Regions from separate parts of the Homo sapiens genome. Here region 2 is linked to region 1. Evidence: promoter capture Hi-C in human tissues and cell types (Jung and others, 2019). All regions are on one chromosome and are shown on one strand. Each heading gives the region's core, a stretch centred on a gene start or on the middle of the fragment in contact. The rest is flanking DNA. Distances are from core to core; before and after follow the strand shown. Region 1 holds the start of NMUR1 (neuromedin U receptor 1). Region 2 overlaps PSMD1 (proteasome 26S subunit, non-ATPase 1).

Region 1 (5,644 bases), core at 1,032-3,531:
CCTTGGCCCCCTCATCTGGGCAGACGCCCACCAGCCAAGCTTAGATGGATGTGTACACCCAGAAAACTGGGGGGTGCCACCTCAGGACGGAGCAGGAGCAGCAGGATGTCATACGTTTCTGATGGGACACTACCGTGGTGGCCTTGAGCTCAGGCCCGGAGGCCAGGGCCCCTAGGGCCCTCTGCACAGTGCGGAAGTGAGGGCCACAGCCATTGTGGCCACTGAGCCTCTCCTTTTTGGGGGCTGCTCTTTAGCCTTTGATGGCTGCTAATGTTATGTGAATGATGCAACCCGCTGTAGGAATTCCTGACTGGCAAGAGTCATTCTGCCTCTGCAAGGCTAGGTGGGTCCTTCCCCATCCCCTCCAGGGCTGTGTGAACCAAAGGGTCCACGGGGACTTTCGGACTGCTCAGAGTCTGTGCAGAGTGGTATGTGTGTGCGCGTGTGTGTGGTGTGGTATGTGCAGAGTGATGTGTGCATGCATGTGTGTGTATGTGTGTGTACATGCATGTGCGTGTGTGTGTGTGTTCCAGTGAAGGGCTGGGGTCCAAATGCTCCTCACTTGCTAAGAGCAGCCTGTGATGCCACAGTGGTCTCTGATGCTGAGTGATGTCATCCCTCCTTGCCCGTCTGTTGTGCTGGCAGCCCTGTTACTGAGGATTTCTCCTGGACTAGCTCATCAGGGGCTGAGTAGTTAATTCCCAGGGCACCACAGAATCCTTTCTCCCAAGGCCCTGAGGACCACGTGCCCCTGCACTTCCCACAACCGTCCCCTGCCTGGGACTCTGTTTACATGTGGAGTTCCTGGGAAGGCCGGCCTGGTGCAGGCTCCTTGAGGGCCTAACTCCCATCCCCAAGCCCAGACAGTGACTTATGGAATTGGGGGGCAGTGGGGAGGAGGAGGGTGCAGGAAAGCGGGGGGAAGGAGGAGCCTCCAGTTGCCACTAAATGGTGACAATCCCACCCCACATTTCTTGAGTGTTGGCCATGTGCCAGCCCCTGTGCTGAATCTTGACGCTCAGTGTCTCATGTCACCTTCACAATAGTGGCGATGGTGGTTAGCCCATTCTACAGGAAGGGGAACTGAGGCACACAGAGCTTCTGAGCTCACGGTGGCCTCTCGGGGTCCTGTGGCTTTGTAACCTCTCCTGGTGCTCCTCAGTGTGATTCTGGGGCATGGGGCTCTCCAGAGGGCGTTTGTCAAACATGAGGATTTCTGGGCCTTGCCCAGGCTAAGGAGACAAAACTCTGGGCAAAGGCCCCGGAACCAGCATTTTACTCTGTGTGATCCGTCATTTCTAGGGTCCCTAGAAGTTTCTGATGAAACAGCTTCCAGCTAAGGAGCTGATTGCAGGACTAGGGAGTGGGAGCAGGTGAGGCACTGGGATTTGCATGTGGGCAGTGTGGGGGAGCAGGAGGCTGTGGCTGGGCATTCTTAACCCTTCCCTAAATTCCCTCCATCCTTGTCTATACCCCCACCCTTGGTACAGTGATGGGGGCAGAAGAACATTTGAACGGATAAGGGGGACAGTATTTGGGGCTGAGGACAATGGTGAGGAGAGGGTGGCCCAGGGAGGCAGGTGAGGAGTGGGGAGGTCCACCCCCAGGCTAGACTTTGGTGTGCTCTTTTTCAGAAGGCAGTGGGGGGGCCCCAAGGAAGGGTTTCGAGGGGGTGATGGTCGTTGGTGGCTGTGGGAGGATGGACTGGAGGGAGAATAGGGGGCTCTTGCCCAGTCCTGCAGGGCCGAGCGCCTGGACTCAGGGACTGGAGGCCCCGAAGGGAGCAGCGGGTGAGAGGGGCTGCGGAGGCTGCAATCATGGGCCTTGGGACAGAAGAAGAGGCCTGGAGCCTGGGAGGATGAACCGCACCGGGGCATGTCGACTTCAAGGGGCTGGTGGGCCGTCCCTGTCCTTGGAGGTGGGTCTGAATGGGGGGCAGGAGGAGCTGGAGGCCGCAGGGACACCGTGACGGCGTTAAGCTAAACTCAGCACGCTGGAGGGCGGGAATCACATGTGAGCCCCAGGTCTCTCGGGCTCCTCCTCTGCGGCTCTCTGAGGCTCAGTTTTCTCATCTGTAAAACGGGTTGTTGTGAGGGTTCCGTCAGATAACGCTGCTTGTGGAGGTGTCGCCTCCACGCTGCTTGTGGAGGTGTCGCCTCCAACGGCCGCGTCCTCCGCCAGTGCGGGAGGGGGCGCCGCCCGGGCTGCGGGGACTGCACTGCCCCCTGGCGGCGTTCCCGGCCGGACAGGCGGGGCGTCGGGGCGCGGGCTGGGGCCGCTGTCAGTCAGTCCACTGGCTCCCGCGCCGCGTCTGTGTCCGTCGCTCGGAGGGTGGAAGCCGGGGTCTCGCGGGCCGCGGGCCGCATGGTAGGTGCGCAGGCGCCGGCGTGGGCTAGGGCGCGGCAGCTGGGCCGGGGCTCGGTGCGGGCAGGGTCGTCCTAGGGCGGGAAGGGTCCGAGGGCTCCGTCGGGGTGCCCCCCGTCCCCGCCACCGGGGAGCCTCGCAACTTCTCGGGTCATTTGTGTCTTCCGGCCAGGGGCGCCGGGGGGCTGCGGGCTTGCGACCCTTCCTCGAGGACCAGGGCGCCTCCCTTGAACCCGGGCTGGCGCCTGCGCGTTCCCAACTGGTTCCCGAGGCTCCCGCGCTGCTGTGCAGCGGGGGTGAGGGCGGGCGGGAGGAAGGGTGTGGGGCTCAATAGAGGAGAGGGAACCCCAGAACTGGCAGTGCCAAGGGCGTCAAATATGGAGACTGAACAGTTCAGGTGACAGAAAACAGAAAAAAGAATCAACTTGTGGATGAAGCATTTGTAGTGTGTAGCCTTGACACTCCCTCACTTGACTCTCATAGTGACTGGGTCCCCAGAGCAAGGGGGTGATCCCCGTGCCCTTCCGTATGCCAGGCAGGCCCTGTGTTAATGTCTTTAATGGATTAAACTCCCTGGATCCTCCTAATAGGGAAACAGCCTCAGAGAGGTTACCTCGCTAAAGGTCACACAGCCTGGAACTGGGGAGGCTGGATTCGAATCCAGGCAGTTGCTTCCTGAGCGCTTGCTCTTGAAGACCCTGCAATACCAGGCATTGTGCCCATTTTACAGATGCCCAAACGAGTGCCTCATCTAGCATCATTGCTTGAAAGAGGAGACACCCAAGATCTGTCATTTACTCAAAGGTTCCAATAGATCATGAAATTTAAAATCAAAACCCCACGTGTTTTTTTTTTTTTAAATGTAGATTTTTACTTTTTCGTTGTTTGCTTTTTGTTTTTTTGAGACAAGGTCTTTCTCTGTTGCCCAGGCTGGAGTCCGGTGGCACAATCTCCGCTCACTGCAACCTCTGTCTCCTGGGTTCAAACAATTCTCCCGCCTCAGCCTCCCAAGTAGCTGGAATTACAGGCGTGTGCTACCACGCCCGGCTACTTTTTGTATTGTTAGTAGAGACGGGGTTTCACCATATTGGCCAGGCTGGTCTTGAACTCCTGATCTCAAGTGATCCGCCTGCCTCGACCAAAGTGTTGGGATTACAGGTGTGAGCCACTGCACCAAGCTTATTTTTACATCTCTGACTTGTGGATGGAAGAGTTTTTTCTTTCTCAGTGGTGCCTAAAATAATGGTCATCATAGCGCTAATGTCACCTTTGGCTTGATGAGTGAGGACAGAGCCAGCATTCCCTGAATGATCTTTCTGGGCATCTCTCCCCTCTGTTCCACAGACTCCTCTCTGCCTCAATTGCTCTGTCCTCCCTGGAGACCTGTACCCAGGGGGTGCAAGGAACCCCATGGCTTGCAATGGCAGTGCGGCCAGGGGGCACTTTGACCCTGAGGACTTGAACCTGACTGACGAGGCACTGAGACTCAAGTACCTGGGGCCCCAGCAGACAGAGCTGTTCATGCCCATCTGTGCCACATACCTGCTGATCTTCGTGGTGGGCGCTGTGGGCAATGGGCTGACCTGTCTGGTCATCCTGCGCCACAAGGCCATGCGCACGCCTACCAACTACTACCTCTTCAGCCTGGCCGTGTCGGACCTGCTGGTGCTGCTGGTGGGCCTGCCCCTGGAGCTCTATGAGATGTGGCACAACTACCCCTTCCTGCTGGGCGTTGGTGGCTGCTATTTCCGCACGCTACTGTTTGAGATGGTCTGCCTGGCCTCAGTGCTCAACGTCACTGCCCTGAGCGTGGAACGCTATGTGGCCGTGGTGCACCCACTCCAGGCCAGGTCCATGGTGACGCGGGCCCATGTGCGCCGAGTGCTTGGGGCCGTCTGGGGTCTTGCCATGCTCTGCTCCCTGCCCAACACCAGCCTGCACGGCATCCGGCAGCTGCACGTGCCCTGCCGGGGCCCAGTGCCAGACTCAGCTGTTTGCATGCTGGTCCGCCCACGGGCCCTCTACAACATGGTAGTGCAGACCACCGCGCTGCTCTTCTTCTGCCTGCCCATGGCCATCATGAGCGTGCTCTACCTGCTCATTGGGCTGCGACTGCGGCGGGAGAGGCTGCTGCTCATGCAGGAGGCCAAGGGCAGGGGCTCTGCAGCAGCCAGGTCCAGATACACCTGCAGGCTCCAGCAGCACGATCGGGGCCGGAGACAAGTGACCAAGATGCTGTGTAAGTGTCACGGCTGGGAAGAGGGGCTGAGCCAGGCACTGGGTATGAGTTTGGGGCTCCTGGGGCCTGGGAGAAGGGGCTGAGTATCTGGGTTTATGGGGGACGAGGAACTCCTCTAGTCTCGTGTGTGTGTGTGTGTGTGTGTGTGTCTGAGTTGCACTCCTGTGTACTCTTTTAGATTACCCTACTAGAATCTTACACCAAAAATACCTGTTAATGGCTAACGGTAAGATTGTGTAATTTGTGGAGTCCAGTGCAACATGAAAATTCAGGGTCCCTTTTTCAAAAATGAATAAGAATGTCAAGACAGCAACAACAGAGCATTAAACCAAGCCCAGGACCCTGCTAAACTTGGGGCCCTGGCTCTGGAACCAAAACACAGAAAGGGCAGGGCATGTGGTTGGGCTCCAGGATGACAGAAAATGGGATCTGGACCCTCCAGGTCTCAGGTCTCTCCTCTTCTTTTTTTTTTTTTTTTTTTTTTTGAGACAGGGTCTTGCTCTGTCACTCAGGCTGTGGTGTGACCACGGCTCACTGCAGCCTCAACCTCCCAGGCTCAAGCGATCCTCCTACCTCACTCAGCCTCCTAAGTAGCTGGGGCTACAGGCAGGTGCCACCATGCCCAGCTAATTTTTTCATTTTTGTAGAGACGGGGTCTCACTATGTTGCCAGAGCGGATCTTGAACTCCTGGTCTCAAGTGATCCTCCCACCTCAGCCTCCCAAAGTGCTGGGATTACAGGCATAAGCCATTGCACCCGGCTCTCTTTGGTTATTAACGTGTCTTGGCCTTGTTCTTCTCGGCAGCAGCCTGTGAGGCATGGCCACCGGCACGCCATCTTCTTTCCTGAGGAACTGCTGTCTTTCCTTAGAGATGAGTGAAAAATCCCAAGAAGGATTCTGATGGGCGTGGCCTAGGTCATGCCCCACCTCCTGAGCCAGAGTGGCAGGATGCCGAGGTGCACAGCCCCCAGTGGAACTACACAGTGAGATCTGGGGGGAGCAAAGTCCCCCAGAGAAGGGGAGGAGGGTGTTGGAGAGGC
Region 2 (5,644 bases), core at 820-3,319, 400 kb after region 1:
AACAATACCTGCTCCTCCTTATGTATGCTGGGGAGAGTCGGTGGAGTGGTAGAGGAAAATACCATACTACCATCACTGAAATCTAGATGCATAACCAGAAACTGGCTTTGGATCAGAACCAGAACTTTGGCTACTAACATTTGATGTCCAAAGGTTTATCAAAATATAAAACAAGCTGAATATTAAACCTAGAAAGCTGGTTATATTTAGGGTTCAGACCTCCAGAATTTCGTCATCAACTTGTTAGGGAACTAATGGCATGCAGGATACTTATCAAGTTACCCCTTGGCTGCAAGGGCAGGATATTCCAGGGAAAACTGACTCACAGGAAAGAGCTTATCCTAAAATCTGTCAACATTTCATTTATTTTGTCATTTTTACTTGTTATAAAAGAGTAAATAAAATATAACATATATACTATTCTTAAACCAACCACAAAACTCAAGTTCTTTTCTTTAGTAGAAAAGTTTTCTGAAAGGGGATAGAAGTTAGACTTAAGTTTTGCTTCCCAAAAGGCACTAACAATTCCATGAGGTTTAGAAAAAATTTTGCCTGAGAACATAAATACCAGGAGCCTAATGCAGAACTTTACCTAGTTAATTGCAATAAAGACTGAAATAGGCTGTGAAGGCTATAAACTCAAAAGCATATAAAAAACCTGACAGTGTCTCAATCTAACAACAGTTCCAACTCTGACACATTCTTTAGAAAAAACAAGTGTTAAGACAAGAAATGAGAAATTCTTTATTAAATTAGTTTAGACATTCAATCTTTTCAAGAGTACAGTAAAACCATAATATTCTTATATGTTTATTTCAATGTTTCAGCAGGCAACTCTAAAAGGGCAAAAAAACTTTCTTTTTTTTTTTTTTTTTTTTTTTTTTGAGACGGAGTCTCGCTCTGTCGCCCAGGCTGGAGTGCAGTGGCGGGACCTCGGCTCACTGCAAGCTCCGCCTCCCGGGTTCACGCCATTCTCCTGCCTCAGCCTCCCAAGTAGCTGGGACTACAGGCGCCCGCCACTACGCCCGGCTAATTTTTTGTATTTTTAGTAGAGACGGGGTTTCACCGTTTTAGCCGGGATGGTCTCGATCTCCTGACCTCGTGATCCGCCCGCCTCGGCCTCCCAAAGTGCTGGGATTACAGGCGTGAGCCACCGCGCCCGGCAAGGGCAAAAAAACTTTCTAAGCAATGATTGGAATGCAAACATTCACTGAAAGCAAAACTCCTGCACATTAATCTTTATATATACACACAGAGATATATGATATAAACTTTTAAAGGAACAGTTAATAAATGATAAAATTATATCACCATTTTGTAACATATAATGAATAGATCGCAGCATGATTATCAACGACTGCTAACATCATGAAAATGGAAATAACTGTGTGTACCGCCAGCCCCACCACCCTAAAAAAAATGTGAATGTGATCAAGCTTGTAGATTCAACTGTCAATTTACAGGAAATGTGAAGGACCAAACAACACATTAAACTACATGTAAAGATGCACTCAGCAAAATTCATACCATGGGAAACAAAACAGAGATAACTGGTTTCTTCAACAAATAAACTGCAAGGAGGAAGAAAACAAAGAAAAAGAGGGCAAGGCAAGAGATGAAGAGAGAACCTACAGGTTAAAAGAAAATACATTAAATCATTAGTAACAATCCACTAGGCTTTCTTTCAGTTATTTTCAATAATTCTGACACTCCCTAAATCTTTCTTCAGTATAAACATTTGCCTTCTAGATAACATCACGAAATAATTCCTCCAGTTTCTTATAATACCTTGGATCAGCATTTATAACAAAGTATTTAAATGACTAATCCTTAATCAGCAATAAAGCTTATTTCTATGTCTCCATAAACATATTTAGAAAAACTGGCCAAGCACAGTAACTCATGCCTGTAATCCCAGCATTCTGGGAAGTCGAGGCAGGAGGACTGATTGCATGAACCCTGGAGTTCAAGACCAGCCTTGGCATTCCCGCGAAACCCCATCTCTACAAAAAATACAAAAATTAGCCGGGGATGGAGGTGCATGCCTGTAGTCTCAGCTACTTGGGAGGATCACTTGAGCCCAGGAAGTCAAGTCTGCAGTGAGCTGAGATCACACCACTGCACTACAGCCTGGGCAACAGAGTGATGCCTTGTCTCAAAAAACAAAACAAAACAAAACAACGTATTTAGAAAACTAAATGTTGAGAAATGGTCAAGTCACAGGAAAAACACTGGACTTTATTTTAGGGAAGGGCAGTGGAGAGGAAAGAAATCAATACTTGGTAGACAATTTTATTAGCATAGAATGTGTTACCTATAACTTAGCTCTTTCACATGTTTTGATATGTTATTTAAAAGTATATTTACAGAAAAAAGTATATTTACTTAGACAATTATAAATTTGCCAGCTGCATGTGTACTCAACGACAGAGCTACATGTTGTGGGAATCTGAGGAACTTTTCTTGTTCTCCTTTATTTTATTCTTTGGCTAGTTCATACAACTTGTAATAATAATAAAAGAAACAACAGTGCCATTGGCCGGGTGTGGTGGCTCACCTGAGGTCAGGAGTTTGAGACCAGCCTGGCCAACACAGTGAAGCCCGTCTCTACTAAAAATATAAAAATTAGCTGGGCGTGCTGGTGGGCGCCTGTAATCCCAGCTGCTTGGGAGGCTGAGGCAGGAGAACTGTTTAAACCCGGGAGACAGAGGTTGCAGTGAGCTGACACAGTGCCACTGCACTCCAGCCTGGGTGACAGAGTGAGACTCCGTCTCGAAAACAAACAAACAGTGCCATTACAGGTAAAAAACAAAAAAGTAGGGGAAATATATTATGCTTTTTTGAATTTTGTGGCATAAAACATTTTCAGGGAAAAAGCTGAGAAAGAAAACAATTTTCTTTCCCAAACATACTTTTGTTCTTCGTACCTCCATATTCTAAGCTACTGCTATTTGTAGCTTTTAACTCTTATCAGTTTAGTATATAGTGAATACATATAACTTACCACAAGGAAAAGCAAAAAACAAAACCACACAGACTGTGCCATAAATGTTACAAATTCAGTGAAAGAGAATTTATTTGTTGTCATCTTCCTGGACTTCAGAAAACTAAAAATTAGTATACTTTTAGGCAAGCTTTTGGTACATTTCCAAAAAGACTAATACTTTTCAGGTGCTGCTAAAATGGGCGAGGGAGGGAATTTTAAAGATGTAAGAAGAGTCACAAGCCTTATACAAAGAAATTGCTGTGTCACCATAATAAATAGAGCTCTTAAAAATCTCAGATTGCATTCCTGGACCTACAGAAATCTGTAATATTCAAAGTTGCAGCATTATTAGCACACTTGTTTTCATTTCTAATCAGCAAACTAAGAAAAGTCTTGCAGTATGAGTGAGCTGCCATCAACTTACTGCTATTCATTGAGAACTGTATTGATATTTCTTTGATTTTTATAGTAATCAACATAAATGTACTTTGATTCTCAAAAAGTTTTAATCACTTCTGATATTTAAACAAGTATTCTAATGATAAAAGTCTATTTCTAATAGCTGATTACTGTGATTACTGAGGACATGCAGAGTTGAGCATATCTACTCCAAAAGATATTTGGGTTATGATCATCAACTATAATTCCAGGTATAGCAGTCTTTTGATTAAAGGACAACACCATTTTATGACATCAGGTTGTACTCTAGAGTTTCGATGACAAAAAAAAATCTTATTCTTTTGTTCTGGCAATAACCTGGCAAAAATTGTCTAGATCAACTTTTACACAGGAATCCAGTAAAAAACTTAACCTGGGGAGGGCTTAAAGAAGAAGGTGCTGTATTGTGGTAAGACAGCACTGTGGCATCTTAAACTGTCTGCCTACCACACCCCCACTCCTAGACTAGCTGTGACAGTAGAGATGGCAGCCTATCACACTCCTGGTATAGGCTGTTAATGCCAGAGGAAGCAACACAGACTTCATATACATATGAGATGGGATCAAGAACCTAAGTAGAAGTCAATTGTGGAAAGGAATGATAACATGATCCCAAAGAAGGATAGGATGGATGAAAAGAAAGACATTTTGAGAAGACAGTGAAGGAAGCTTGTTTTTGATTTGTCAAAGTCTTTCGTTAAAATAACAGGCAGTCAGAAGAGAATGAAGGAGTCTAACGAGAACAGATTAAGTTTGAAATAGCTATTCTTATAGTTTCAGCTCTTTCACTGATCTTGTCAAAGAGAATGAACATGAGAGGAATGAATAAAAAGAAAGCTGAGAAATATTTGAACTCCACTGTAGGTCCTGTTGAAGTGAGCTAGTCTTAGTTCTACCTTATCTGTACTATAGTTACCAATATACTTGTTTGCATCCTCCATAAAATTATAAATTACATGAGGACAGAAAATGTTTACCTTATTCATTAATATATCTCCATGAGCATATGGCACTTAGTAAATACTTCACAAATGAATATGTAGCAGATACAATCCCTGTCATGTTAAACATTCCTTTATGGTTACTGTTTAATAGGTATTATGACTGAGAGGTAAAAAAGTGTTCTTGGCTGATATTTAAGCTGTCTTCCTAGACCTATAAAGAATATTAGACTGCCCTTTTCGGTCAAAGACAGAATCTGCTCAATAAATTAAAAAGACATCAGGGAGAAAATTCAATTGTCTTAGAAAAAAATGTGCCAATTAGGTTTTTTTGGTTATTACTGGATTAGAGGCTGAGTCTGACCTTGAAGTTACTTTAGTAAGAGTTACTTTATCTGAAGCTTTTGGGAAAGGAAATATTCTACACAAATGAAGCTTCCAGATATTAAAAACTTCACTCTACCATTAAGAATCATACTTTTATATTTCTTATTATTTGCATAGAAATATTTAATAAATTCATTTCACATTTATTTGCTGAATGAACATGATCTAGCCTTTTCTTAAGTACACAGAAGTCATCACTGTGCTATCCATCATTATGCCACATAAAATGTTGTCAAAGGGCGTGGGGTGCGGTGGCTCATGCCCGTAATCCCAGCACTTTGGGAGGCTGAGGCAGGCGATCACTTGAGGTCAAGAGTTCGAGACCATCCTGGTCAACATGGCGAAACCCCGTCTCTGCTAAAAATACAAAAATTAGCCAGGCGTGGTGGCAGGCGCCTGTAATCCCAGCTACTTGGGAGGCTGAGACAGGAGAATTGCTTGAACCTGGGAGGCAGAGGTTGCAGTGAGCTGAGATTGTGCCACTGCACTCCAGCCTGGGTGACAGAGGAAGGCTCTGTCTCAAAAAACAAAACAAAAACAAACACAAAAAAAGGTACAAGTCTCTACTTTGAGTAGACCTACATGTTTATACATTTAAATTCTTGTTTTTTTTTTTTTTGTTGTTGTTGTTGCTGTTTCAGTTGACCCTATTTGCTATTATCAAAGTGCTTGTCCACCTTTTAACTTGTTACTCAAATCTGGAGTAGGCAGGGAAACATGTTTATTAAAATTGTCTCACATGAATTTATCACTCAACATTCTTTTGTACTATCTACATCTACCACCATGTACAAATGTTATTTTCACTAAAGAAGGGGGAGAGGCAAAGTTTTGTGTGTGTGTATACGTCTGTGCGTGTGTGTGCGTGTATGTGTGTAAAGAGTAAAAAGAT

What was found. The method cuts DNA at HindIII sites, captures the fragments that hold promoters and counts their contacts. A contact is called where the count stands out against the background at its distance.
Region 2: a contact is called between a fragment that was not itself captured here and the fragment with the promoter of NMUR1 in region 1, in 1 of the 25 tissues and cell types used here (pancreas).

What each region holds. Positions count from the first base shown.
Region 1 is chr2:231,527,082-231,532,725 of GRCh38, reverse strand. NMUR1 (neuromedin U receptor 1) reads left to right here and starts at 2,281. Exons shown (of 3, transcript NM_006056.5): 1 at 2,281-2,367; 2 at 3,709-4,603. The coding sequence starts at 2,365. LOC105376787 (a long non-coding RNA gene) reads right to left here and starts at 556. Exons shown (of 4, transcript XR_001739928.2): 1 at 1-556. RefSeq lists enhancers at 595-1,329, 3,819-4,345, 4,346-4,873 and a silencer at 2,024-2,453. The HindIII fragment of the contact is 18,375 bases long and covers 1-5,644 here.
Region 2 is chr2:231,127,002-231,132,645 of GRCh38, reverse strand. The region is part of intron 16 of PSMD1 (proteasome 26S subunit, non-ATPase 1); the gene reads right to left. Among named protein-coding and RNA genes, the nearest start is that of HTR2B, 4.8 kb to the right of the region's middle. The HindIII fragment of the contact is 4,723 bases long and covers 1-4,430 here.